Linked DNA regions of Homo sapiens: region 2 is linked to region 1. Evidence: promoter capture Hi-C in human tissues and cell types (Jung and others, 2019). All regions are on one chromosome and are shown on one strand. The core of a region is centred on a gene start or on the middle of the fragment in contact, and the rest is flanking DNA. Distances in the headings are between cores, read along the strand shown. Region 1 holds the start of PEX11A (peroxisomal biogenesis factor 11 alpha). Region 2 overlaps ARPIN-AP3S2 (ARPIN-AP3S2 readthrough).

What was found. The method cuts DNA at HindIII sites, captures the fragments that hold promoters and counts their contacts. A contact is called where the count stands out against the background at its distance.
Region 2: a fragment that was not itself captured here is called in contact with the fragment with the promoter of PEX11A in region 1 in 2 of the 25 tissues and cell types used here (IMR-90 fibroblasts and mesenchymal stem cells).

What each region holds. Positions count from the first base shown.
Region 1 is chr15:89,689,132-89,692,562 of GRCh38, forward strand. PEX11A (peroxisomal biogenesis factor 11 alpha) reads right to left here and starts at 1,623. Exons shown (of 3, transcript NM_003847.3): 1 at 1,446-1,623. The coding sequence starts at 1,501. It overlaps WDR93 (WD repeat domain 93), which reads left to right and starts at 1,680. Exons shown (of 17, transcript NM_020212.2): 1 at 1,680-1,726. RefSeq lists an enhancer at 1,458-1,547. The HindIII fragment of the contact is 14,807 bases long and covers 1-3,431 here.
Region 2 is chr15:89,870,903-89,874,333 of GRCh38, forward strand. It overlaps ARPIN-AP3S2 (ARPIN-AP3S2 readthrough), which reads right to left. Exons shown (of 10, transcript NM_001199058.2): 8 at 573-644. AP3S2 (adaptor related protein complex 3 subunit sigma 2) reads right to left here. Exons shown (of 6, transcript NM_005829.5): 4 at 573-644. Among named protein-coding and RNA genes, the nearest start is that of MIR5009, 11 kb to the right of the region's middle. The HindIII fragment of the contact is 7,631 bases long and covers 1-3,431 here.

The DNA of each region.
Region 1 (3,431 bases), core at 373-2,872:
GTAACCATTTAAAAAACCTATCAAACTAATGAGAAAGCCAGTATAGCTTGGTAGTTAAGTGGGCACTGGAGTCATTTGCGTGGATGTGAATCCCTCAGTTCTGCCATTGTAGTACCTATTAACCTCTTTCTGCTTCAGTTTCTCCATCTGAAGTGGGTAAAATATTTAGAGTATCTACCTCATAGGGTTGTGATGAGGGTTATATAAGTTCATAGTTGCAAAACACTGGGAACAATAGCTGTCATAAAGATGGCTTCCAAAAGCCTCATTATTGGGGCCATTCTAATTGATCTGTTTGTATCAGCACTTGCACACCCAGAAGAGAATGCAGAGCTGTTAAATAAAACTGCAACTGTAAATATTTTTTCATTAAGCAAGAATCAACCAAATCTCTAAAACATCATGAACTAGTACTGTATTCGTATTAAAGATACAATCTCTCAGTTCTTTTCGTTTCTTATGGAACCAAAAGAAAAAGAGACACAATCTCTGTTTAATATTTTCAGTAGCACAGCATGAACCTTAGAGGTGCAGTTAGTTCTTTCTGAGCTTCTCCCCACTGTATTTCCCCCCAATCCAGTTGGTGTGGTCTCATCCCCGCTATATTTTGTTTTACAATTTACAAAACTATTCCACATGCAGTATCTCAATGATACAGCCTGGGTAATAATGGAAGAGAACTTCTGTCTCTCCTCAAACATTTCAAGAGGTATTTGAGACCGGGCGCGGTGGCTCGCACCTGTAATCCCAGCACTTTGGGAAGCCGAGGTGGACAGATCACCTGAGGTCAGGAGTTCGAGACCAGCCTGGCCAACATGGCGAAACCCCCGTCTCTACTAAAAATACAAAAAGTAGCCGGGCGTGGTAGTGCACGCCTGTAATCCCAGCTACTCAGGAGGCTGAGGCAGGAGAATCGCTTGAACCCGGGAGGCAGAGGTTGCAGTGGGCCGAGACCGCGCCACTGCCTGGGCGACAGAGCGAGACTCCGTCTCAAAAGAAAAAAAAAAGAGAGATATTTGAAGTCACACCAAGTGGTTTGCTTCCCTAGCCACAAATACTAATCCAAAGTTTCTCTTTAAAGGAGATCCCTCGGAAGAATGTTGAGTGGAGAGAACCAATCTTTCTGTGCCCGGAGAGCAAAGTTAGGAGGGGAGGAGGATCTGTCAGCCGGTGTCCCGTCGTCGGCGGTCTCGAGGCGGCTAGGGTGCCAGGCACTGGGGCTTTCGTGCACGGGGCTAGGACGGGACGCGGGTGCGTTGGGCCCACTCACGTTGAATTTAGGGTAAGGAGGGGCTCGGATACTAAACTCCCTCCGTAGGAGCTGGCAACGTCCTTCCTGCTTCCATCTACTAGGCTATCACCTCCTTTTTCCCGGGTGCAGGGGAATAGGCACGGGAGCCGAGTTAGGGCGAGAAAGGGGCGGAGGCCGCTGGCACCTGACTCACCTGAAGAGTCGGTCCCGGCCCTGGGTCTGGTTGGTGAAGCGGGTGAAGGCGTCCATGGCTTCTAGCCCAAAGGCCACGAGTCGCACGGGGCTCAGGCGTGGGTCCTCTGGGGCCCGTCGGATCCCCAGGGAACGGTCAGTCCCAGGTTATCCGCTGAGGGGGAGGGGCTGAGTCTCTCCGCCCCAGAGGGGGCGGGCACACTTTCTGTAGAGCAACTTCGCGGACTTCCGGTTCAAGCCGGAAGTTGTGGTTACCAAGGCGACGCAACGCCGCCCGGCCAGGTGAGCAAAACTGATCTTACCTTTGGATGCCGGGGCTCCCCTCGAGTCCCAGGACTCCCCTTTACCTGTAGAGTCTCCTAGAGGAAAGTCTGAGGGGGTCCGTCTCCCCAGACTCGGGCGTTTCCGGATGCCTGACGCCTCCCCGCAGATCTCAGGTTCTCAGGAACCCGGGGTGATATCCCGAATGGTCTCTCCAGCCTCAGAACTCCCCTGAGCTCTTGCTTGGGACGGTGGGGCCTAATCATTTCCCAGCGCCGTGCCTCTTTCCCTTGAGCTACACCAGCTCTATGTCTGGTGAAGGAAGTGGTTAGGTCAGAGATAAGCCAATTTCACAGTGTGAACCTAGCATGGGAGGCGGATGAAGTGAGAAAATGTTCTGCTTGGATTATTGAACATTGAAAGAAGATTGTTACCTGAGGAAATCCTAAAAGAGTCATTATGAGCAAAGTGAAGCAAAAATAGATTGCAATGAAATTGCACCGCTGAACATTCGTTCTGTGCGGCTTGAAGAAAAGGAGCCTTACCCACTCCGTGGCAGTAATTTTATAAAATGTACCCTCTATAACCACAAAATAAGGTCGGCCGGTGCTGTGGCTTACGCCTGTAATCCCAACACTTTGGGAGCCGAGGTGGGCGGATCACCTGCGATCAGGAGTTGGAGACCAGCCTGGCCAACAGGGTGAAACCCCGTCTCTACTAAAAATACAAAAAAAGTAGCCGGGCGTGGTGGTGGGCGCCTGTAATCCCAGCTACTCGGGAGGCTGAGGCAGGAGAATCGCTGGAACCCAGGAGGCGGAGGTGGCAGTGAGCCGAGATTGTGCCACTGCTTTCCAGCCTGGGCGACAGAGCGAGACGCTGTCTCAAAAAAATAAAATAAAATAAAATAAGGTGAACATTTTCGTAATCTTTATTCCCTTGGTCAGGCCAGCTCCTAACATTTGCAGGCCCTGGGTAAGAGTACAAATGGAGTCCAGCACACCGTATGTTTAAATATTTTAGTTATAAATCAAGCAACAAATTGTAAAGTAAAATATAGTCTGTTTTCCTACATTGACAAATAGACCCTCATAATGATGTAGAAGGCCAGGTTCATCTTCAGAATCCCTAGACTCCTTAGAATACCTGGAAACACAGCTGGAATATGGCAGTGTGGGGAGAAATGGCTCCCAGTCTTTTCCCACTTCCCTTTCTTTTCTGGTTTCTGGTGCCCACCTGCATTCCCTGCCAGGAGCCTTGTATACCATCCTGATACTCCAAGCCACATCCAACGTCTGCCCGTACCTCTGCAAGCAGCCATGCCTTTGCCACCTTTTCAGATCGAGGAGTGCTCACATTAGCAGCTGGGTCTGCCCTCAGGTGAAAGCTGAGAAGGGCTCATGCAGGCCATGGTGTCATTTGGGCAGTAAATTCCAGGGGTATTGGTACCCTGAACATGGTCTAGACTCCAGAAGAGGGAAACTAGGCTTTGGGTGAGCATATCTCCTTGGCCCCATGGGTTACTCATTTTTTGTAGAGGAAAGAGCCTCGAAGAGAGCCAGAAGTTTTCTCTAAATACGTGGCCCAGGTCAGGGCAATTCTGCAAGCAATGAGAATTTATTGAGTCCTGGCCATATACCAACCACTGTGCTAAACTCTAGTCGTAGGGTAATAGGTTAACAAGGAACACAGTAAACTGATAAGTACAACACAGAGATATGTTAGATGA
Region 2 (3,431 bases), core at 306-2,805, 180 kb after region 1:
CATAGGCCATGTCACAGTTATCCTAGCAAAACAAATCTGAGAACACCTACTTGGGGCCATTTTAATTCTGCCTCTGATAGTCTACCTTCCTATAGAATATCACCTGACCTTGAATTACATTACAGATCTCTTAGTCACTATATTACTCTTTAGGAAAGATATAAATTTTACTATCTAAGTCAAAGCCCCTGCGTCATGATTATTCCAAAGTTTCATTGTCACTGGCCTATGACTAGGAAACTAATTTTATAATCAGCATAAAACTATTTATCTCACCTTTGGCCAAGTAGCCAGTGACATCATTCTCCTATATCAAGAAATCAGTCTGTGAACAGATGAACCACGATATAGGCCTAGTAATAATCTTATGCACGTTAAAACTGTTAGTAGATCTTAGCAAAAACAAAACAAAACCCAAACTATTAAATCTATTAAATAAAACATGTTCTAGGACTATCTTAAGAGTAAAAAAAAACAAGAAACAATATGAAGATGTAGAGGTGGCTACAGATGCCCAAGGCTCTTGGTTTTCTAGTAACCCTAGTTTGGAAGAGAACTGCAAGAGAATATACCTTATCCATATGGAAGATCAAATCCAATTCACACACATTTTCGAAACACTTATCCAGAGTTTCCACAAAAACCTAGAAAACAAGGAGAAATAGATAAAGAAGAGAAATAGGAACACATTCACAGCTTTATCAATGTCACATCTGAAAGTAAAAGGGGCTGTCACAATACTATTTACTTTATGATAAATCTCAAAAATTAAAACACCTACCTTTTGTCTCCAGCATTAGCTGATCACCCTACTTATCTCGATTTAGAGGGAATAATCTAGGACAGGAAAACCTTGTTTTCAGCATAGCAACACAACCAGCAGACACATGTGGCTCTTTCCCCCTTTATAAGATGCTAATTTATGGTAGGGCATGGTGGCTCATACTTACAATCTCAGCACTTTGAGAGCCCAAGGCAGGAGGATCACTTGAGGCCAAGAGCTCACGACCAGCCTTGCTAACAAGACGAAAACCCATCTCTACTAAAAATACAAAAATTATCTGGGTGTGGCGACACGAGCCTGTTATAGTCCCAGCTACTTGGGAGGCTGAGGCACGAGAATAGCTTGAATGAGAATCATTTGAGGTGGAGGTTGCCATAAGCAGAGATCGCACCACTGCACTCCAGCCTGAGTGACAGAGTGAGAGTCTCTCAAAAAAAAAAAAAGAAAAAAGAAAAAAAATTACATAAAAGAATAACAAATTAAAAAAACCAACTACTTACAATACTATGTCCTCAATGAATACATGTACAAAAAATTTTTCATTATTACAGGGTTAACATAGCTGTGTTTTAATTTCAGCCAAAATTAACTTCAAAACATCTTCCCTTTTTAATTTTTTTGGTCAGTTATTTAGCCTACAAAATACCTTCCTATGAATAAATTTAATTGACGTGTTTACAACTTAAAATTTTTTTTTAAAAGCCCTGAGCTTACTTCTCTATAGAACCTTTTAACTTTTAATAAAACATAACAGAAAAGTGTACAAATGACAAGGGCACAGTTTAATGAATTTTCAGAATGAACACACCATGTAACTACAACCTAGGTATCTATCTATAACTGTTTAATTTCTCTCAGACAATGACCTCATTTAAACAATCTCATTGTCAGCAGTGTCATGAATTGTTCGGCACTGCATGAAAATGGGTCTTACTTGAGGCCAGCAAGTGACAGAGACCAGGCACACCGTTCCACTGTAGCACAAGATGGGTGCTCATAGGCAAACCACCCTGCAGCGGCTGCTGGGGAGACAGACCCACTTGCCATGAGGAACCAACGCACACTATTGGAGCTGATCCTGCTCTGTCTCTTCTCTATGTAAGTAAAGCTTTATCCAGTGTTTGCACTTTTTCCTTGCCGACTCTGATACCAAGATGCAATGGGCAAGAGCATTTAGATTCCTTTCTTGAGACTGGTAACCAGTGCACTGTATTTTGCCAGATACCAACCATTTTGGAAAACTATGACATTATGTATGCATGCTCTATGATCTAGGAATTCTACTCCCAGATAACATATCTAACAGATATATACATGTATGCCAAAAACCACATACAATAATTTCATATTAGTGCCATTCATAAATCTTTACATTTTTAACAGTGCCAGAATATTTCACTATAAGGACACATAGTTAAATGGGTCTATTTCTCAATCACTATGCTGGGTACTTGGTAAGCCCTTATAATCCTGCAGTTCAAGTCCTTCAGTTCTGGGAAATTTTATCGAATTATTTTGTTGAGAATTCCCTCCTTTCCACATTCCTAATCAATCTTTTTGGAGCTGCTTATATTCAAGTATTGGACCTCTGTCTGTCTTCTTTTTTTTTTTTTTTTGAGACAGACTCTCGCTCTGTTGTCCACGCTGAAGTGCAGTGCCACGATCTTGGCTCACTGCAGCCTCTGCCTCCTGGGTTCAAGCAATTCTCCTGCCTCAGCCTCCTGAGTAGCTGGGATTACAGGCATGCACCACCACGCCTGGCTAATTTTTGTATTTTTAGTAGAGACGAGGTTTCACCATGTTGGCCAGGCTGATATCCAATTCCTGACCTTAAGTGATCCCCCTGTCTTGGCCTACCAAAGTGCTGGGGTTACAGACGTGAGCCACTGTGCCCGGCCTCTGTCTTATTTTCTCATCTTTTCTCTCCCATTTTCCATCTCTGCCCATTCTGAGACAATTGATTAACTTGATTTTCTAATACTTCAGTTGAAGTGGGTTTTTGTTTGTTTCCATTTCCTCTCATTTTTTATTTCTAAGAGACCATTTTGTTCATTTTGTGTGAGCAACAAGGCTGTGAGTGTTTTTGTTTAGCACCCATTTAGCAATAAGACATAAATGGGTCTTATTTTATTTCTAATTAATAAATGGGTCTTATTATTATTTAAAATAAATGTCTTATTTCTCTGTGGCTTTTTTTTTTTTTTTTTTTTTTGAGACAAGGTCTCACTCTGTCACCCAGGCTGGAGTGCTGTGGTGTGATCTCAGAACACTGCAGCCTCAGCCTCCCGGGTGCAGGTGATTCTCCTGCCTCAGCCTCCTGAGCAGCTGGGACTACAGGTATGTGCCACCATGCCTGGCTAAAATACTTCGTATTTTTAGTAGAGATAGGGTTTCACCATGTTGGCCAGGCTTTCTCTGTAGCTTAAGAATAGGGTTTTGGGTTTTTTTTTTTTTTAAACTGTTTTCCTTTCTTTATATGGTGTCCATTTTTAAGTTGCTTTTTATTGTTTGTTCATTTTATCTCCTTCTTCTATGTTAGAGGTTTTCCGCAGATGTCTGATAATCCTTTGTTTTTCATTTGTTACAAGAATAAAAGGCTGATTGAAAGCTCTACAATCATGGATATTTCTTGCCCACCTCCATGGTT